7 separate regions of the Homo sapiens genome follow, and regions 2, 3, 4, 5, 6 and 7 are each linked to region 1. Evidence: promoter capture Hi-C in 16 types of primary human blood cells and fetal thymus (Javierre and others, 2016). All regions are on one chromosome and are shown on one strand. Each heading gives the region's core, a stretch centred on a gene start or on the middle of the fragment in contact. The rest is flanking DNA. Distances are from core to core; before and after follow the strand shown. Region 1 holds the start of NFATC1 (nuclear factor of activated T cells 1). Region 2 overlaps PARD6G (par-6 family cell polarity regulator gamma). Region 3 overlaps ADNP2 (ADNP homeobox 2). Region 4 overlaps ADNP2 (ADNP homeobox 2). Region 5 overlaps RBFA (ribosome binding factor A). Region 6 has its middle 14 kb from the start of RBFA. Region 7 has its middle 2.4 kb from the start of TXNL4A.

Evidence for each region. The method cuts DNA at HindIII sites, captures the fragments that hold promoters and counts their contacts. A CHiCAGO score of 5 or more calls a contact.
Region 2: a contact is called between a fragment that was not itself captured here and the fragment with the promoter of NFATC1 in region 1, in 4 of 17 cell types (erythroblasts, monocytes, total B cells and 1 more). The highest score is 7.0, in erythroblasts.
Region 3: a contact is called between a fragment that was not itself captured here and the fragment with the promoter of NFATC1 in region 1, in 1 of 17 cell types (monocytes). The highest score is 5.5, in monocytes.
Region 4: a contact is called between a fragment that was not itself captured here and the fragment with the promoter of NFATC1 in region 1, in 5 of 17 cell types (fetal thymus, erythroblasts, monocytes and 2 more). The highest score is 11.4, in fetal thymus.
Region 5: a contact is called between a fragment that was not itself captured here and the fragment with the promoter of NFATC1 in region 1, in 1 of 17 cell types (naive B cells). The highest score is 5.3, in naive B cells.
Region 6: a contact is called between a fragment that was not itself captured here and the fragment with the promoter of NFATC1 in region 1, in 5 of 17 cell types (naive B cells, monocytes, total CD8 T cells and 2 more). The highest score is 8.2, in naive B cells.
Region 7: a fragment that was not itself captured here is called in contact with the fragment with the promoter of NFATC1 in region 1 in 4 of 17 cell types (monocytes, total CD4 T cells, M0 macrophages and 1 more); the score reaches 6.0 in monocytes.

What each region holds. Positions count from the first base shown.
Region 1 is chr18:79,394,421-79,397,313 of GRCh38, forward strand. NFATC1 (nuclear factor of activated T cells 1) reads left to right here and starts at 1,510. Exons shown (of 10, transcript NM_001278669.2): 1 at 1,510-1,931. The coding sequence starts at 1,805. RefSeq lists enhancers at 141-260, 1,902-2,449 and silencers at 1,346-1,745, 2,106-2,205. The HindIII fragment of the contact is 8,960 bases long and covers 1-2,893 here.
Region 2 is chr18:80,158,827-80,161,719 of GRCh38, forward strand. It overlaps PARD6G (par-6 family cell polarity regulator gamma), which reads right to left. Exons shown (of 3, transcript NM_032510.4): 3 at 1-1,780. The coding sequence ends at 945. The region is part of intron 1 of PARD6G-AS1 (PARD6G antisense RNA 1); the gene reads left to right. Among named protein-coding and RNA genes, the nearest start is that of PARD6G-AS1, 12 kb to the left of the region's middle. RefSeq lists a silencer at 924-993. The HindIII fragment of the contact is 1,523 bases long and covers 618-2,140 here.
Region 3 is chr18:80,134,084-80,136,976 of GRCh38, forward strand. ADNP2 (ADNP homeobox 2) reads left to right here. Exons shown (of 4, transcript NM_014913.4): 4 at 1,529-2,893. Among named protein-coding and RNA genes, the nearest start is that of PARD6G-AS1, 12 kb to the right of the region's middle. The HindIII fragment of the contact is 1,078 bases long and covers 989-2,066 here.
Region 4 is chr18:80,110,066-80,112,958 of GRCh38, forward strand. All of the region lies in intron 1 of ADNP2 (ADNP homeobox 2), which reads left to right. Among named protein-coding and RNA genes, the nearest start is that of ADNP2, 2.2 kb to the left of the region's middle. The HindIII fragment of the contact is 3,157 bases long and covers 1-2,893 here.
Region 5 is chr18:80,040,113-80,043,005 of GRCh38, forward strand. It overlaps RBFA (ribosome binding factor A), which reads left to right. Exons shown (of 7, transcript NM_024805.3): 5 at 2,023-2,107. Among named protein-coding and RNA genes, the nearest start is that of RBFA, 7.1 kb to the left of the region's middle. The HindIII fragment of the contact is 3,769 bases long and covers 1-2,893 here.
Region 6 is chr18:80,019,036-80,021,928 of GRCh38, forward strand. It overlaps a transcript of TXNL4A not described here. Among named protein-coding and RNA genes, the nearest start is that of RBFA, 14 kb to the right of the region's middle. The HindIII fragment of the contact is 171 bases long and covers 1,303-1,473 here.
Region 7 is chr18:79,989,482-79,992,374 of GRCh38, forward strand. It overlaps a transcript of TXNL4A not described here. Among named protein-coding and RNA genes, the nearest start is that of TXNL4A, 2.4 kb to the left of the region's middle. The HindIII fragment of the contact is 1,408 bases long and covers 727-2,134 here.

The DNA.
Region 1 (2,893 bases), core at 260-2,759:
GCGCGGCCTCGCTGGAGTCCCCCTGACCCCCCGACCCCCGCCCACCGGCCTGGGCGTCCTCCCGCGGCCCCTCCTCCCCTCCCGGCGCCCGGTGCTCTGGGGCGCGTGCCACGCCTGGCTCGGCGCCGTAGGGGCCCCCGCAGGTAGAGACCCCTGGAAATGGCCTCGACGCCGCAGGAGCGAGGCGGCCACCACCCCGCTAATCCGGGCACGTCTCTCCAGGCCGAGGCCTGCGGTGGAAAAGCCGGGGTTCCATTTGTGCTGAGTCGGGGCGGCCGAATGGAGCCAGGCCTCGGGACGCGGGACGGACGGGCTCTGGCCGCGCACCTTCGCGGGCTCTGCAGCGCCCGACCGCCTCCCCCGGCAGGGAGGAGGCGCTTGTGGGGGGCACCCACGGGGCACAGTGATCCCTGGGGGTCTGCGGACCTCCTGGGCCCCGCAGCAGACACGAGTTTAGCCTTTGGGTTTAGTTTAAATCACATAAGGGTGTCGTGCAATCGATTTATGGTTTCTACACACCAGACACTTTAACCTCCAACCCCCCCCATCCAAAGCCAACAAGAAAATGCGGTGCCGTGTTGGCAGCTGAGCTGCGCCCGAAGAGACGCAGGGAGACGTAAGAGAGGAAAGTGTGAGTGGCCGGGGGGCCTCCCCCCGTCAGAAGTCGCGCAGTCGCGCCCATAAAACGCCCCCTCCGGGCGGCTAGGGCAGGTGAGCGCGTCCCCGGGCCTCCCCACGCCGGCCCCTGCCACAGGCCGTCTAGGTCGAGCAGATATTTACAGAATAAAAATGACAATAACTCGACGTCCCGGGACGGCCACGCAATCTGTTAGTAATTTAGCGGGATGGGAATTTCCTTTCTAGGGCCTGCCAGTGAAGCGCTTTTCCAAATTTCCACAGCGGGGGAAGCCTGCGATTTTACATAATGACTTCAGCATGCCGGGCTTTCTCGACACCCCTCCCCGGCCCCCGGCCCCCGCCCCCCGCCCCTTTTCCAGCAGGGCCGGGCTCCCTCCGGACACCCGCGTGGACTCAGGCGTCCCGTCTGGCCCGTTCGCCCCCGTTTCCCCCGCCAGCCCCAGCGCCCCCCTGCCCGGCCCCCGGATTCCCCGTTCCCGCCCCTACGCCCCCATCCCCTCCCCGTGCGCCCCTCCCCGTGCGCCCCCCTCCCCGTGCGCCCCCCCTCCCCGTGCGCCCCCCTCCCCGTGCGCCCCCCCTCCCCGGGCGCCCCCCTCCCCGGGCGCCCCCCCTCCCCGTGCGCCCCCCCCTCCCCGTGCGCCCCCCCTCCCCGTGCGCGCCCCGCCTCTTGCGCCCCTGCCCCCAGGCGAGCGGCTGCCGCGGCGCGGGGAGGGGCGGGCGCTCGGCGACTCGTCCCCGGGGCCCCGCGCGGGCCCGGGCAGCAGGGGCGTGATGTCACGGCAGGGAGGGGGCGCGGGAGCCGCCGGGCCGGCGGGGAGGCGGGGGAGGTGTTTTCCAGCTTTAAAAAGGCAGGAGGCAGAGCGCGGCCCTGCGTCAGAGCGAGACTCAGAGGCTCCGAACTCGCCGGCGGAGTCGCCGCGCCAGATCCCAGCAGCAGGGCGCGGGCACCGGGGCGCGGGCAGGGCTCGGAGCCACCGCGCAGGTCCTAGGGCCGCGGCCGGGCCCCGCCACGCGCGCACACGCCCCTCGATGACTTTCCTCCGGGGCGCGCGGCGCTGAGCCCGGGGCGAGGGCTGTCTTCCCGGAGACCCGACCCCGGCAGCGCGGGGCGGCCGCTTCTCCTGTGCCTCCGCCCGCCGCTCCACTCCCCGCCGCCGCCGCGCGGATGCCAAGCACCAGCTTTCCAGTCCCTTCCAAGTTTCCACTTGGCCCTGCGGCTGCGGTCTTCGGGAGAGGAGAAACTTTGGGGCCCGCGCCGCGCGCCGGCGGCACCATGAAGTCAGCGGAGGAAGGTAAGCCCCGCGCGGCCTCCGCCCCCGGACCCCTGCGCCCCCCACGGCCCGGGCCGCGCCCCCCGACCCCGCCCCCGTCGCCCGCACGGAGGGGTCCGGGCCAGAGAACGAGGTCGGCCGGGTCTGTGCGCCCAGGGAGGGGCGCGGCGCGGACCGGGAACGGCGTCCCCCAGCTCCCAGCAGCCCGGTTCCGAGCGCGCCTTCTGCCAATAGGTGTCTCCTCTGCCCCAGCGCTGAGGGCGCGAGGCGAGGCCGCCGCGGGTCCCGCCGAGGAAGCGGCTCGCAGGCCGGCGATTTGGGGACGGGCGAGGCTGGGCCGTCAGGACCACAGAGGGCACGTGGGAGGGAGGAAGGGAGGCTTCCTTGGGAGTGAAGGATGCCCCGTGTCTTCCTGAGCGAGGCAGAGCCACCCTCTGGCGCCAAGATCGCGGTTTGGGGGTTCTGCGCCCCCCACCCCCACCCCGAGCTCGTGGCGGCGTCTCCCTCGCGCCGCGCCCCTGAATTCCCCAGGGCCGAGCCCGTCACGCCGGCTCCTGGACCTGCAGGACCAAAAGATCCAAAGCGCGGCCGCAGCACAGCCCCGAATTTAAGCCATTTTGAAATCCTATAGGCAGGAGTTCCAGCCAGAGAAGATGTTTCAGGCAAGTTTGAAAAGGAACCGCCAAGTTTCGAGCTGCTTCTTTATAGTGAAAAAAAGATGGCACAGTGTGGGTCCCTGAAACCCGGTGTGGGGGGCGCTGAGACCCCCCTGCGGCGCATCTCACATTCCAGTCCCCCACCTTAGCCCGTCCCCGGCACACACCCCTGGCGATGCCGGGTGGGCTCCTGCAAGTGGCTTTGAAAATACCCTTGCAGAGGTGTGAGCATACGAGTTAGGGATTAGGGATTGCAATGCTAATGGAAATTGGAAGACGCTTTTCCAAATTCCTTACCAGCTCTGAAATATTTTATATAATTTATTT
Region 2 (2,893 bases), core at 129-2,628, 760 kb after region 1:
ACTATGTCTCAAAACAAACAAAAAAAAGCCCCGGAACAATTCCACAGCTGCGGGTGCCATAAGTGTGCTGGTGGGAGCTCTCCTGTCCCAACCGAATTATGACTATGAACAGTGTGAAAATCTGGAATTCATCTCCATGGTTGTACATGGACAGGTTTGGGTGTATTTTTTTTTTTTCCCGAGACAGAGTCTTGCTCTGTCACCCAGGCTGGAGTGCAGTGGTGCGATCTCAGCTCACTGCAACCTCTGCCTCCCGGGTTCAAGCGATTCTCCTGCCTCAGCCTCCCAAGGTAGCTGGGATTACAGGCGCCTGCCACCACACCTGGCTAATTTTTATATTTTTAGTAGAGACAGGGTTTCACCATGTTGGCCATGCTGGTCTCGACCTCCTGACCTCGTGATCAGCCCACGTAGGCCTCCCAAAGTGCTGGGATTACAGACGTGAGCCACTGCACCTGGCTGCATTCGTTATTAAAAACCAGCCTCTTGTCACGTACATCAGCACAGTCGGCCTCGCCTGCAAGTCAGCAGAGAGCACAGCAAGAATGCTGAGATATGTTGCATGGGCCAACTTACTTAAAAACATGAATTTGACTATTTTAAAAAAGTAATTTTAAAGCTTCACTTTAAAAACAAAGTATTTGTAAAAATTTTAAAAAGCATTTTTTTGCACTTGGTCAGATCTTTTCTATCACTTTGCAAAGGCGCCAAGACCTGCACTCAGGCCTGGTATAGAGTGTCTCTACAGGCGTTCATTTTAAGTTCTGTGGCGAAATTCTATAAAAATAGGCAATACTTGTGTTTTTATATCCGGAAGTTGAAACAAAGAGCAGCGTTGTTTTTGTGGTCACAAAAACAACAAAAAATGAGCGGATGCAGTCTGCAGGTCCTGTCCCTGTCCTTACCGGGGAACTGGAGCTAGGATTTGGGGGCCTCTCGGGAGTCTAGAGCGTGACCGCGGGCCCGTGCTCCTCCACGCCGCCTGGCGGCAGCGCCAGGCTGTGACGGGGGTCGGCCCGCAGGGAGCTGAGCAGCCGCTGGAGGCCGCCGTCCAGGGCCAGGTCCCGCTGCAGCCGCTGCGCCAGGCCCGCGCCATTGACCCGGGAGAGGCTGCCTGCGGGCGCGCCCGGGGTCTGGGGGGGACGTGCAGGCTCCAGTGTGCCCTCGATGACGACGTCGTTGTCCTCATCGCTCTCCGCCTCGTCGGGGTGGAAGTTCTGCAGGACGCGCGGGGCGGGGGGACCCACGAAGCCCGCGGTGCCGTCCGAGGGCGGTCCCGAGCTGCCCAACGCGCGGCCGCCGCGCACCACGTTGTTGCGCTGGTTGGCGGGCTTGACGGTGACGATGAGGTTGTGGCTGTTGGCGATCATCATGTCCGTGACCTGGTCCAGCGTCTTCCCGGCCACCTCAATGCCGTTCACCTCCAGGACCTCGTCATTCACAGCCAGCAGCCCGGTGCTCTCCGCCAGGCCCCCGGGTACCATGCGCGAGATGAAGATGCCGGGCACCTTCTCCAGCCCGTGCGGGGTCACGCGCACGCTGGCGCCATCGCGGATGTAGAAGCCCAGCGGCTTCTCGCAGCCGTGCCGGTGCAGCCGCACTCGCCGGTGCGTCTCGGGGACCAGGTCCACATCGATGATGGATGATACGGGGCGGAAGTCGCGCGGGAGGCCGATGTCCAGGTGTGCACGCCGCCGGGGTCCTTCATCACGCAGCGCGCCCAGCGCCCGCCTCCGCCTGCACAGCGAGCCCGCGCCGAGGCTGCCACGCTCGGCCTCCTCTGCGGGAGAGGGGACAGTTAGAGGGGACACACAACCGAGCCCCGCCTGAGCCCTCGGCCGTCATACACCTGGCACTGCTGTTCCATCTGCGTGACGCCGAAGCACCCAGGGTGCACAGGAGCATTCCAGACCTGCAGGCTGAGCTGAAATCAGGCAAGCTCAAGTGCAGCCCCTAAAATTAACTCTCTAGCACTCTCCTTACAGCTCCACAGGCACCAAACCAAAGAACTCAGAGATTAAAAGGTGCTAGCAGGCAGCTGCAGCAGAGAGAATCAATGGCAGTGGAGGGTTTAGGGCTTGGAGGGCTGGCGAGTGCCTCAGCCTTCTGGGAGGCAGCAGGCTGGACTGGGGACTTCTTAAGCTTTGCCCATTCTCCCATATTTCCTTCTCTCAACTGTAAGACGGAGGCTCGTTTTTTTCTAAGGTTAATTACAACTAAGAGAGACCTTTCCTGCTTTCTTCTTTTCTATGCGCAAGCCCCACCACAGTGTCTTCTAGCCAGCATTCAAGGCCCCTGAATGTGTCACTCAGTCGGGCGTGTGAGCATTTCCCTGCGTTTTTGGTTAGCAGCTGATGAGGGGAGATGAGTAGAGGAAGGAGTGGGATCAGAGGATGGCTGCTTCCCTTCTGTGAGGTCCCGCACAGTCAGTGCTATTTGTAGGCACATGGAGCCTCAAGGCTCACCAATATGCCCAGCCTCCCATGGGGGCTGTGCAGCTCTCTTCCTCAGGTCTCCCAGGGACCCTGTGGGATCCGCCTGCCCACACCTGCCAGCCTGTGGCATGACACATTTGTGGCAGTGTGTAAACTTTACCCTAAAGTTGGGCTACTGCAAAATAAAATGAAAGTCCACTGAATTAATCAAGCAGAAACGTAAGGAGCTTAGTCTAAAGTAAAAATTTTAAGTGAAGAGACTGGTGGCATTTGGAAACTCTGAATAATGCATTTTCCTCATGTCAGAAAAAAAATCTTGTTTCATTAATTTTTATATGAAACCTCTTGTTCTTGACACACACGACTCTGTAAGACAGGCGTCTCGGGGAGCAGAGGGAAGGGCTTGCTCTGTGAGGCTTGGTCCTGTGGAGTTGGTGGCATCCACAGCAGCCTGCTCT
Region 3 (2,893 bases), core at 278-2,777, 740 kb after region 1:
TGCAAGTTTCCTTGAAACCACTGTGATTTAGTTCTCCTCCACCTGAGCACAGCTTGTGGCTACTACAGGATGCCTCATTTAGCAGATCTTGACTTCATGAATAGCAAGCCCCATTGATTTTTCTCATCCGAATTCTTAAAATATCTCGTAATGTAACTCCAGTTACTCAGGAGGCTGAGGCAGGAGAATCGCTTGAACCGGGATGGCGTAGGTTGCAGTGAGCTGAGATCACGCCACTGCACTCCAGCCTCAGTAACAGAGTGAGACTCTGTCAAAAAAAACAAAAAACTGAAGAATGGAAGAGTGTGTGTGTGTGTGTGTGTGTGTGTGTGTGTGAGAGAGAGTGATAATGAGCACACAGATTTAGGAAAGGATGAGAATTAACCCTTGATCACTGTGGTAGTACCACAGCCAGCTCTGGGGCTTTAGATGAAGCTAGGTCTTAGCTTCCTTGTTTGTGGAACTGGGGAGCAGGTGTTTTGTGTTTCACCAGCTCTGGGTTCTCAAGACTCTGTCATGAGACCAAAGATTTCACTGTGCTCTCAAGTTATTGCAAACCAGCAAGTCTTACTAGATGTTAGAACAGATTGCATCCTGTTGTATGAATATGCTTTTAGGCCGCGAACTTGTTAAATTTCCCAAAATGTGCTTTAAATAGAAATCCCATATGGTCAGTGTTGCGTTCTGTGGCCTTACCCTTATCTTAGGGTCATCCATAGTGTGAGTTTAGGCTTAGTCTCACTTTCTTTACTGTTTTATCAGATAGTTTATTGGGTACCTGCATGGGCCAAACACTGTCCATTTGGCTCCTACCTTCTCTAGAAATAGAGGAAGTAGAAAGATAGTAATGATGGGTTTAACATTTTGAAAGCTAGGTTAGTTATGGATAAATTCCAGAGGTTTTAGAATTTGGAGCAAAAACAACATTGGAATTAAGAGAAATGGGATGAGGGGGAGAAAATAACTTTCTTTTGTAGAAAATTAATGAAGCTTTTAAAATTGATGCTGTTATTAATAATTCAGAATACAGGACTAAGTAATTATATTTGTGGTTTTAGTGGATGACTTAGAACAGGGGTCAGCAAACTATGAGTTGTGAGCCAAATCCTATATTTGTATGAATTAGCCCGTGAGCCATGAGCTAGGAGTGGTTGTTAGGCTTTTAAATGTTTAAGAAAAAAATGACAATACTATTTTGTGACATGTGGAAAGTATATGAAATTCAAATTGGTGTTTGTAAATAAAGTTTTATTGGAACATAAATTACAAATTATTTTGGGGACTTTTGTACAACAATGGCAGTGCTGAGTAGTTGCCACAGAGACTGTACTGTATGGCCCACAGTCCTAACATAATCACTCTCTGGCCCTTCACAGAAAAAGTTTGCCAACCCCTGGGTTAGAAAACATTAAGTCAGGTTAAATGCCTAGCACATTAGAAGAAAAGGGATCAAGTCCTCAGGGACTGTGGAAGGTTAGCATCTGACAGTTTATTCAATTATGCTTAAGGCTTTCTTTTCTTTTAACAGAGATATCGAACAAAGCCATACTGTTGTGGCCTCTGTAAATACTCTACAAAGGTGCTTACTTCATTCAAGAATCATTTACATCGTTACCATGAAGATGAAATTGACCAAGAGCTGGTGATCCCTTGCCCAAACTGTGTATTTGCATCTCAGCCCAAAGTTGTGGGAAGGCACTTCAGAATGTTCCATGCACCTGTCCGGAAAGTCCAGAACTACACAGTGAATATTTTAGGTGAAACTAAATCATCTAGGAGCGATGTGATAAGTTTCACATGTCTAAAATGTAACTTTTCAAACACTTTGTACTACAGCATGAAGAAGCATGTGCTGGTAGCCCATTTTCACTACTTAATTAACTCCTACTTTGGCCTAAGAACTGAGGAAATGGGTGAGCAACCGAAAACTAACGATACTGTTTCTATAGAGAAGATCCCACCACCTGACAAATATTACTGTAAAAAGTGCAACGCCAATGCCAGCAGCCAGGATGCGTTAATGTATCACATTTTGACATCAGACATACACAGAGATTTGGAGAATAAGCTTAGATCTGTGATTTCAGAACATATTAAGAGGACTGGACTCTTGAAGCAAACGCACATTGCTCCAAAACCAGCAGCACATTTGGCTGCACCAGCAAATGGCAGTGCTCCAAGCGCTCCAGCGCAGCCTCCTTGCTTCCATCTTGCTTTGCCACAGAACAGTCCAAGCCCAGCCGCAGGACAGCCAGTGACTGTGGCCCAGGGTGCCCCTGGAAGCCTCACTCATTCCCCCCCTGCTGCTGGCCAATCCCACATGACTCTGGTCTCCAGCCCTCTGCCTGTGGGCCAGAACAGCCTCACCCTGCAGCCCCCAGCACCTCAGCCCGTCTTTCTTTCTCACGGGGTTCCACTTCATCAGTCTGTGAATCCTCCTGTGTTGCCCTTGAGTCAGCCAGTCGGACCTGTCAATAAGTCTGTTGGAACTAGTGTCCTCCCCATAAATCAGACTGTTCGCCCTGGGGTTTTACCCCTCACCCAGCCTGTGGGACCCATAAACAGACCTGTTGGGCCTGGTGTTCTTCCTGTGAGCCCCTCTGTCACCCCTGGGGTCCTGCAGGCTGTCTCGCCAGGGGTGCTTTCTGTGAGTCGGGCGGTCCCGTCTGGAGTCCTTCCTGCAGGCCAGATGACTCCTGCAGGCCAGATGACTCCTGCAGGGGTTATCCCTGGGCAAACAGCAACTTCTGGGGTTCTTCCTACTGGCCAGATGGTCCAGTCAGGAGTTCTCCCTGTGGGCCAGACAGCTCCGTCACGGGTTCTTCCCCCAGGCCAGACAGCCCCATTGAGGGTTATCTCTGCAGGCCAGGTGGTCCCGTCTGGGCTTCTTTCT
Region 4 (2,893 bases), core at 245-2,744, 720 kb after region 1:
TCCCTAGAAAGGTTTGAAGAACAGCTGATAACGGGGCCCTGTTTCTTCATCGTTGAGCTTTTGATGCGAATATCAATAATTGATATACAGATGTTGACTTTAACATTACTTTTCATCTGCCGTTGCTGGTTGCATTGAAATAGATTCCGTTTACAAAATTTCTACTACAGTTGACTTTGGAATGTTAATTTTAACTGCCCTTTTAAATACTGTACAGATGCAGAATGAGAAATAATTAGATATTTTAAGTAGTTTATTTGAACAGAAGACTTGCCTGCGTGCTTAAAACTTACTCTATTTGCACGGGTAATCACTGCCTCTTGGGATCTTGAGGAATATACTGGCTGTGGAGGAGTGGGGTGGGGGAGGAGAAACTGGTAAGCAGGTAACTGACAATGCAGATTGGCAAGTGGGGCAGCAGTTTGTAGAGTACTGTGGGCATCTGCCACGCAGAGCCTTTATCAAAAGAGGGGGTTTGGAGTCTGGGTACCATTTTTGGGGGTGAGGAGCATTAGTGGGAGAGAGGACCACATGTAAAAAGAGTTGTGTAAAGTACATGTTCAGCTGTATTTGGAAGTCGGTAATGTATGTGTAACTTATTTAAAGATGTTCTTGGAGAGTTGGCCATGTATGAGTGTGTATTAATATTTCGGTTAAATTTCGGTTGGAGTTAGGACTTCACTGCGAAGACAGCATTGAGCCCGTCGTCCTTAAACATGAAGTGACAGATGTGTGTTAAGAAAGGAAGTACAAGAGTGAAGATGAGACAAGAGGTTGTCCTACCGGCCCTCTAGTTGAGGGGAGGAACAGTGAGGGTTAGGACATGTCTGAAAGGAGTTGATCACTGTTTATGGGGGAAGATGACAGCTATGCTAAGATTTTTAGCTGAAGAGATTCTGGGATTTGGGAGACACGTTTTTAATTTGAACCCAAGTTTGCAATATGCTGTTGGTTAATTTATGATTGCCCTCATAAGTTCACCAATAGCATATTGCAAACTTGGTTTCTGCCCTGCCCTTCATCCTCTGGCTATCCTAGACCTGTTAGGGCAATGTGTTACATAGGTGGAAACCGGTATCTCCCAGTGATTTGAACCCAGATCTGCTGAATATATGATCCAAGTATTCTGTGTTTTTAAAGTTGCTTTTTAAAAAGTCCTGTATTCCAATAGTTGGGACATTTCATTTAGTTTTTTGGAGTTAATTAATAGCAAACTCAGTGCTTATGTGCTGTTTTGCATGTATTAACTCATTTATCCTCATAACTACTCTGTGAATTAGGTCATACTCGCCCTGTTTTACAGAAGAGCCAGCTGAGGCCTGGAGAGAGTAAGTGATTTCCTGAAGATTACACAGCTCATAAATGGTGGAGCTGATGTAAACCCGGGCACACAACTCCAGAATCCTTTTTGGTGACCATCGTTTTGTGCGATTTCACAGGAACTAAAAAAAAGTTCTGTGGCTTAAAAAGTATTGTTTATTACTGTATTACCTGAATGACATTTTTTTTTTTTTTTTTTGAGACGGAGTTTTGCCCTGTCGCCCAGGCTGGAGTGCAGTGGTGTGATCTCGGCTCACTGCAACCTCTGTCTCCCGGGTTCAAGCGATTCTCCTGCCTCAGCGTCCCGAGTAGGACCCAGCCAATTTTTTGGTAATTTTTAGTAGAGACAGGGTTTCACCATATTGGTCAGGCTGGTCTCCAACTCCTGACCTCAGGTGATCTGCCCGCCTTAGCCTTCCAAAGTGCTGGGATTACAGGTGTGAGCCGTTGCACCCGGCCAACATTTTCTTTTAGAATGTATTTTTTTTTCTATAATAGAATATCCTTACGAGATCATTATACTAAAAAATCCCCAGAGAAGTCCTTTATGTACCCTTTTGGGAAATAATATTTTCTTGTGCATATCAGTGGAATTTTATGGTAGTTCCATGCCTACCCTAAACATTAGGAATTGAGATTTATTTTGAATTGAAATTGATAGGTTGGTGCATGATGTGGAAATAGTTGGCCGCCCCGGTTAGCCTGCTGTTTTCTAATGGTGAAAATACAGATTTTACTGAGCTCTAAGATTCTATGGAGAACAGTATCTATAGAGGATCTATAAATATGAAAACATTGAACTATTTCATAGTTAATTCATCCACTGGGCATTTTACATGGAATATTTTATCTTAGGATTGATAAATTATGCTATAAGAATGGATCTAAGAATGAATAAATTGTGGTAGCTTAGAATGGATAAATTATGGGTAAAAGTCAGCTTCCCATCCCCAAAGTGGTTGGCAACAGTTATGAAACCTGTAATTTACTTGCATTTTATTTTTTATCCTTTGTTGGTTTCCCTAAAGCAGTTAGGAAACTGCTAAACAAAAAAAAAAAGGAGGGGGGAACTTTTCCCCCTCCTTTTTTTAAATGAAAAGGTATTTGTGTGCTTGTGTTTTGTTTTGTTTAGAAGGGCCACAATAACGATGAAGGAATGGAAGCACTTTCATTTGAGAATAAAAAGTTCCTATTTTTCAAATTCAAGGGAAAAAAATAAAAAAGTGACAACTCCTTGGCCCTAGTCCCAAGCCTTGAACAAGTAACCACAGACCCCTGCCCAATCTCTGAGAGCCTCATTTTAGTAACCCCTTTCTGAGGTTCATGTATGTACAACCATGCTTACATGAATCAGCCAATCCCCAATCACTCTGCTTTTAAAAGTCCACCAGTCTTTGTATCCCAGGCTTCTCAAAACTCTGTGATAAGATCAGCTCTGGCTGTGTGAGTTGAGATTTTCTTGGAAGCAGTAAATTTAGCTTCCCTGTTTCAGATACATATGGATGATGGTCCCTACTTTAGACAACACTGTTTGTCAGCCAGCTTTTGGAGAAGAACCCCAGAGGATAGAGAG
Region 5 (2,893 bases), core at 118-2,617, 650 kb after region 1:
TTGGCCAGGCCGGGACAACTGACCTTTAATAAAGTACATTTGTTGAATTTTTGTGACAAAGAAGATCCATACTTTTCTCATGGCTGTTAAATTCTGTCTTTTCCAACACATAACTGGGAGGCCTGAATTTTTTTTTTTTTTTTTTTGCTTTTTTTGAGACAGGATCTCATTCTGTCTCCCAGGCTGGAGTGCAGAGACACAATCTTGGCTCCTGCAGCCTCAACCTCCCAGGCTCAAGTGATCTTCCTGCCTCAGCTTCCCATACAGCTGGAAGCACAGGTGCATGCCACCACACTTGGCTAATTTTGTATTTTTTGTAGAGATAGGATCTCTCTATGTTGTCTAGGCTGGTCTCCAACTCCTGGGCTTAAGCGATCCTCTGGCCTGAGCCTCCCAAAGTGTTGAGATTACAGGCATGAGCTACTGCGCTGGCTCTTCTTGTATTTCAGTGAGAGGAAGGACAGAGTGCAGAAGCAGCAGTGAGATCCCAGCTGTCTTCCATGAAGCTGGCCTTGGAGAATTTGCAAATACATAAACAATTCCATGCTTTTCATTGATTTTGTGGGGGGGAGTGTATATATATATTTTTTGTTAAAAATGTCTATGTAAGCATTTAGTGGGTTTTTAAGCGACTTTAAAAAGACGTAGCTTTTAGAGTTCTCAGTTTTAGTTTGTAGTATAGTAAATATTGATAGATAGAACCCACATAAACAAATGCTCTTTGGGATCTTCAGTAATTTTTAAGAATGTAAAGGATCCTGGGACCAACAATTTTGGGAATTGCTGAGCTGGATGATAATAAAGAAATTATTCAGTTTCCTCCTCAGTTTTAAAAAATGCAGAAATCCAAATCCAGCTCACTGTCCAGCTCTCTCAGAACTGGAATTCCTCCTTTCTGCCTCCCTTCTCATCATGCCCCATGTTTAGGGTGGGGACAGACGTAGAAAAGGTGGCCGTGTGTGGGCTTCGTTCCAGGCACCCTGCCTGGCTTCCCTGCATCATTACCACACACGATGATGCCCAGGGGTCTGTGAAACTGCATATCAGAGAATGCTTATTTCTTACTGTTTAACAAAAGCAAGAAAATGAGAGATTATTGACAAGTGTTGAAACAGCATTGTTTTCTGATTTTTAGGTATCAGAAAATTCAGTTGAGCTGAATGTCCCTCTTCCCAACTCCTGCGGTCACCCAAGATTTAGGGTCACCGTTTTCCATAGCTGTGTACCAAAGATCTGTGGTCACGGCTTTCGCTGGTTATATGTGCCGTGCCTACATTGGCCCTAGGTCTGTATTATGTGATGTGCATGATACAAATATCACTTCTGTGTCTAATATCTGGGAACCTGAGGGTTGTGTCGTGCCAGGGCGTGTCCACTGGGCACAGGAGGACAGGCTGTTAGTGCACAGACCCTGGAGCCCAAGGCTACGGCGATGAGTTCAGATCAGGTTATTTGTACAGATCGCACAAGTTGCGTTGAGAAAAGTCAAGGCAATTGCAGTTATGATGCATTTTGCATCCCTTTTTTGATGTGGTAGTTGACTAAAGATGACTCTTCTGGGCTGAGGTTTTCATTTTTGAGTAATACGATAAATCTCACTCCTGCCTCTTTTTTTTTTTTTTCTTTTTTTTTGAGACCGAGTCTTGTTCTTTCACCCAGGCCGGAGTGTAGTGGCACTATCTTGGCTCACTGCAAGTTCCGCCTCCCGGGTTCAGGCCATTCTTCTGCCTCAGCCTCCCGAGTAGCTGGGACTACAGGTGCCTGCCGCCACGCCTGGCTAATTTTTTGTATTTTTAGTAGAGACGGGGTTTCACCATGTTAGCCAGGATGGTCTCGATCTCCTGACCTCGTGATCCGCCCGCCTCGGCCTCCCAAAGTGCTGGGATTACAGGCGTGAGCCACCGCGCCCGGCCTCTCACTCCTGCCTCTTGGTTACATCTTGAATCATATGTTCAGCACTGTCACGCCTCTCCACTGAGTGTCACGGCACAGCTGTGAGGGTCTGTGCGTTCTGTCTCCTAGGCACCTTTTGATGTCCCAGCAGACCCTGAGGAATGTGCCACCGATAGTGTTTGTTCAAGACAAGGGAAATGCAGCTCTAGCTGAGGTAAGGTTTTCAAAAAAACTTTTTAAAATTTAAAAATTTTTATTTTTTTAATTAGAGACAGAGTCTTGCTATATTGTCCAGGCTAGTCTTGAACTCCTGGCCTCAAGGGATCCTTCTGTCTCAGCCTCCCAAAGTGCTGGGATTTATAGGTGTGAGCCACCGGGCCCAGGTAATAATTAACTTTTTATAACATAAACGCTTATATGAATAAAGTTTTAAATTTAAGTTTTAAATCCTGAAAAGATAATGTACAGTTAAAAAAGAGAAGAGGCCAGGTGCAGTGGCTCAAGCCTGTAATCCCAGCACTTTGGGAGGCCGAGGCAGGTGGATCACAAGGTCAGGAGTTAGAGACTAGCCTGGCCAATACGGTGAAACCCTGTCTCTACTAAAAATACAAAAAAATTAGCTAGGTGTGGTGGCGTGCGCCCGTAGTCTCAGCTGCTCGGGAGGCTGAGGCAGAAGAATCAGTTGAACCGGGAAGGCGGAGGTTGCAGTGAGCCGAGATTGTGCCACTGCACTCCAGGCAGCAGAGTGAGAGACTCCGTGTCAAAAAAAAAAAAGAGAAGAAACCACTGAGAAGGGAACAAATGAAAAGTAATGAAAGAAAGGTGCAAATGAAAAGGCTGTCCCTTTCTCCTGTGCCCCTGTTCCCAGCCAGGTCCCCAGAAGTAGTTGCTGTTTCTGGTTTTAATTTTTTTATGCTTATCACTGTAGCTCTAACTAGGGTATGAACTCAACACGGCCAGAGTTGCCCTCCCACGCCTGTCTCCCCCTCCCACCTCTCGA
Region 6 (2,893 bases), core at 138-2,637, 620 kb after region 1:
AGTTCCAAACTTTCCTACACTTTCCTGTCTTCTCTTGAGCCCTTCAAACTTTTCCAATCTCTGCCTGTTACCTAGTTCCAAAGTCACTTCTGCATTTTCGGATATCTTCTCAGCAACACCCGACTCTACTGGTACCAATGTACTGCATTAGTTTGTTTTCATGCTGCTGATAAAGACATACCTGAAACTAGGAACAAGAAAAGGTTTAATTGGACTTATTTCCAAATGGCTGGGGAGGTCTCAAAATCATGGTGGGAGGTGAAAGGCACTTCTTACATGGTGGCAGCAAGAGAAAATGAGGAAGAAGCAAAAGCAAAAACCCCTGATAAACCCATCAGGTCTCAAGAGAATTTATCATGAGAACAGCACAGGAAAGACTGGTTCCCATGATTCAAGTACCTCCCCCTGGGTCCCTCCCACAACACATGGGAATTCTGGGAGATAAAATTCAAGTTGAGATTTTGGTGGGGACACAGCCAAACCATATCAAGGACCATGTGTTATTTATTACCTGATAATAAGGTTGGCAAGGGGTGGCATTTCTGCCCAGGGATAGCTATTCCCATTGGGAATTCCACCTAGGAGGTCTGGCTAGATTAAAATTTTTCTATAGTCTCTCCCAGTTTGGTGTCACCCTTGTTCCTTCTTAGTCTCCAGATCTCTGTACTCTTAGCAATTATGAGCATACTTTTGGAATATTTAAAGGTTTCCCAAGTATGGTTCTTTTCCTCTGCTTTTAAAGCAGAAGAAGGCATTTGCTATCTTATTAACTTTACCTAGTCTAAAGGAGTAAGTCTTACCCTCAGGGTGTGTGTTTTTTTGCGTAGCGTTAAAAATGCTCCCATACCATGCTTTATTTATATCCATTTTTAATGGTTAAAGGTAAAGCCAGCAGAGGGAACCCCAAGATAGTGATATGGTTTGGCTGTGTCCCCACCCAAATCTCATCTTGAATTGTAACTCCCACAATTCCCTTGTGTTGTGGGAGGAACCCGGTGAAAGGTGATTGAATTGTGGGGGCGGGTCTTTCCTGCACTGTTCTCATGATAGTGAATGAGTCTCAGGAAATCTGATGGCTTTAAAAACGGGAGTTTGCCAGCACAGGCTCTCTCTTTGCCCACCACCATCCACGTAAGATGTGACTTCCTCCTCCTATTTCCTTGAGGTTTTTTTGGCTGCATAGATTTGCACCACCATTTGTTTACACTCCTGTTCAGGTTCTCCAGTTTCCTCTGGGAGGAAAGTGGCTGGGTTCAGGCCAGGACAGGTCTTTAACTGAACTGCAGGTTTTTCCAGCAGCAAAGCTTGATATTTGAGGAGGTGATTACCTGTTAGCCACAGACTTCCTTTAGAGGATAGCAGTGCTGCTACATTATGGGGTGTGTAAACAGTTAACTTATTCCTCATGGCTAACTCAACCATGCAACTGCAACTGCTCAGAGGCAAGCTGGCCATTTTTTAGCCACCAAGTTAAGCTTTTTGCTTAGGTAACCAAATGGCTGCTGGGGTGGACCTTGAGCCTAAGTTAAAACTCCCAAGGCTATTCCCTTTCTTTTTGAGACATAAAGATTAAACGCCTTCCCTATGGGAAGACTGAGCGTAGGTGCTTTAAGTCAGGCTTTAGCTGATTAAAGGCCTTCTGAGCCTCAGGTTTTTAAGTTAGGGAGTGAGTTTATAGCTGATTGAGTTTATTTTATAAGGCAGTATAAAGGGCAAGCCATTTTACTGTACCCAGGTATTTACAATTTACAAAAACCTGTAATGCCCAAAAATCCTCTTAGCTGTTTGAGTGTTCCAGGGAGGAGAAATGGGGAAATAGTCTTAATTATCTTCTCACCTAATGTTTTGGTTCTTTCTGACAAGACTAGACCAAGGTACCTCACTGAAGTTTGACAGAGCTGAGCATTAGATTTGGAAACTTTATATCCTCTACCTGCTAGAAAATAAAGAGCGTTAGTGCCTTCTTGAGAAACCCCCTCAGTTGGGGCACAGAGGATAATATTATATACATATTGTAAAACTTTAACCTGAGGATGAGAAAACTCAGAGAGATTTTTTGATAATGCTTGCCCAAACAGGTGGGCACTGTTTTGGACTCCCTGAGGCAGCACTGTACAGGTTAACTAGTTAGCCTGGTTGGAGGGATCTTTTTTTTTTTTGAGATGGAGTCTTGCTCTGTTGCCCAGGCTGGACTACAGTGCCATGATCTCAGCTCACTGCAAGCTCCACCTCCCAGGTTCATGCCATTCTCCTGCCTCAGCCTCCCGAGTAGCTGGGACTATGGGCACCCGCCACCATGCCTGGCTAATTTTTTGTATTTTTTAGTGGAGACGGGGTTTCACTGTGTTAGCCAGGATGGTCTTGATCTCCTGACCTCGTGATCTGCCCCCCTCGGCCTCCCAAAGTGCTGGGATTACAGGCATGAGCCACTGCCCCTGGCTGGTTGGAGGGACTTTCTTAAAGCAAACAAGTATTGGGAGTTAGGGTGCAATGGTATGCAGAAAAAGGCACTTGTTAGGTTTAAAACTGAATCATTTAGTTCCCTCAGGTATTTGAGTTAGCAAAGTATACGGATTAGGAACCACTGGATGGATTGGAACTATAGCTTTATTAACAAGATGGAGGTTCTGAACTAGCCTGCATTTCCCACTGGGTTTCTGTACCCCTAATATTGGGGTGTTGCAATGCTTGAGAAGGTTTTGTGCTTTTAATTTATTCATAATGGCTTTTAGGTTTTTGTTCTGTTTTTCAGCTTTTGGCTTTAGCGGGTACTGCTTTTGGTTACGGAAGAAGGTGGAATTTTTAAGGTGAATTTGGACCAGTATAACAGTTGTAGCCTGGCCAATTTTCCCGTGACTTGTCCACACCTCTGGGTTAACATTGGTTTTTAATA
Region 7 (2,893 bases), core at 181-2,680, 590 kb after region 1:
CACCAGTCAGAGCTCCCCAAACCCTTACTAGTGCCAGTGAACTTTCTCAAAGAGAAATAAGTTAATATTTCTCTTTTTAAAATAAAACCTCTAACCTCTGTTCTTCTGAGAGAGCACTTTGGGTTCATGCTGGAGACTCCCTGGTTTGCAAACTGATATTGATAGTAAAACTCTTGTCTACTATCTAGCTATCCTGGTGGTCCTTTAGATGACAAATTTAAAACAAATCACGCCCGGGCGCGGTGGCTCACGCCTGTAATCCCAGCACTTTGGGAGGCCGAGGCCGGCGGATCGCCTATGGTCGGGAGTTCAAGACCAGTCTGGCCAACATGGTGAAACCCCGTCTCTACTAAAAATACAAAAAATTACCCGGGCATGGTGGCGCCCGCCTATAATCCCAGCTACTAGGGAGGCTGAGGCAGGAGAATCGCTTGAACCCAGGGGGTGGAGGTTGCAGTGAGCTGAGATCGCACCACTTCACTCCAGCCTGGGTGACAGAGTGAGACTCCATCTCAAAAACAACAACAAATCACTATGCAGATGCTGTGGTGTCTCTCAGATGGGCTGTGGCATGGTGAGAACTACAGTCTGAAGAGCCTGCTGGCATGGGGATTGAAATGGGTTCCATGTTTGGTTTCCTCTGGGACACAGCACCATAAGGTGCTTTGATAATATGCACCCACAATTTAAATACTAGAATCACAAGTGCAGCTCACTGCCAGATTAAGCTTTTTACATAATACAGAATATTTCCCAATTATATACGAAATGCTTTATTGTAATGAAACAATTTCAGGTTGGTAGGATATTAGAGATCATCTAAATCTCTTTCATTTTATAATTGAGTAAAGCAGAGGCACAGAATATAAGCATAGTGGTTAACAGTGAGGGTTTTAGTTACATAAAGGCGTGTTCAGGTTCATCTGTGCCTTGCATAAGTTATCTCAACAAACTTCAGTTTCCTCATCCATGAGATGGGATGATAAAACAAAATCTCCTGTACTTCATTGGCACCAGGTACACACTGGAGAAATCTGAGCCCTTACTAAGGTCAGGCTATTGCCTTCTAAAAAATTCCTTACCGTCATTTTGGTAGTCACTCATTTCAGATACAAACACAGTTGCTTAACACATCACAAGCATTTTATTCACAGGAGAGTTGTTCCAAGCTAAGGCATAAGACTCAAATGTCCCCAAATAATTTATTGAAACTCATTTTTTATTGTGTTACTTATAACAAGATTTATCGCCTTAATTTTTAAGGACATTAAGTACATTCATATTATGCAACCATCACCACTATCCATCTCCAGATAAATCTTTTCTTTAATAAAAACTTTTGGCCGGGCGCGGTGGCTCACGCCTGTAATCCCAGCACTTTGGGAGGCCGAGGCGGGCGGATCACGAGGTCAGGAGATCGAGACCATCCTGGCTAACACGGTGAAACCCCGTCTCTACTAAAAATACAAAAAAAAAATTAGCCGGGCGCGGTGGCGGGCGCCTGTAGTCCCAGCTACTCGGGAGGCTGAGGCAGGAGAATGGCGTGAACCCGGGAGGCGGAGCTTGCAGTGAGCCGAGATTGTACCACTGCACTCCAGCCTGGGCGACAGAGCCAGACTCCGTCTCAAAAAAAAAAAAAAAAAAAAACTTTTGTTGAGATCTAATCCATATACTATAAAATTCACCAATTGAAGGTGAGATGGTTTTTCAGTGTTGTGGAACCAATACCACAATCTAATTTTAGGAGAATGTTATCACCCCGAAAAGAAAACCTATACCCATTAACAGTCATTTCCCATTTCCCTCCCATTCCCTCAGCCCCTGGCAATCACTAATCTATTTTCTGCCTCTATAGATTTACCTATTCTAGACATTTCATATAGATGGAAACACAAAATATGGAGTCGTTTGTGACTGCTTTCATTTAACATAATGTTCTCAAGGTCCATATTGTAGCAGACATCAACAGCTAGTTCTTTTTAATTGCTGATGAATATTTCATTAAATAAAACAAAAAATTAGAAACTATTCCATTATATGGATATACTACATTTTATCCATCAGTTGATTGACATTTGGGTTGTTTGCATTTTTTTACTATTATGAGTAATGCTGCTATGAACATTCATGTACAAGCTTTTGTGTGGACTTAAGTTTTCATGTGGTAACTGTTTAACATTTTTAAGTATTGCTAAATTGTTTTCCAAATTGGCTACACCATTTTACATTCTCACCAGGAATGTGTGAGGGTTTCAGTTTTTCCACATTCTTGCCCATGCTTGTTATTTATGTACCTCGTGAACCCCAAAAATCTGAGACAGGTCTCAATTAATTTAGAAAGTTTATTTTTCCAAGGTTGAGGATGCATCCATGACACTGCCTCAGGAGGTCCTGATGATATGTGCCCGAGGTGGTCGGGGCACAGCTTAGTTTTATACATTTTAGGGAGGCATGAGACATCAATCAATATATGTAAGAAGAACATTGGTTCAGTCTGGAAAGGCGGGACAACTTGAAGCAAGGACAGGAAGACTCAAAGCGGGAAGGGGGCTTCCAGGTCACAGATATGTGAGAGATGAACAGTTGCATTCTTGTGAGTTTCTGATCAGCCTTTCCAAAGGAGACAGTCAGCTGTGCATCTGTCTCAGTGAGCAGAGGGATGACTGACTAGAATGGGAGGCAGGTTGAAGGGACCCAAGATACTTTCCTTTCACAGCCTTGTATTATGGTCATACTGGTAGGTATAAAATGATAAGGTGGTTTTCATTTGCCTTTTCCTAATGGTTAGTGACTGTTCCTCAGTGGCCAGGCCTATACAAATCTGCCCCAAAGTCAGAGGAAGCTGAGACGCCAAAGAAAGGGACTGGCAAATCTAGTTCTTTAGAGAGAAACA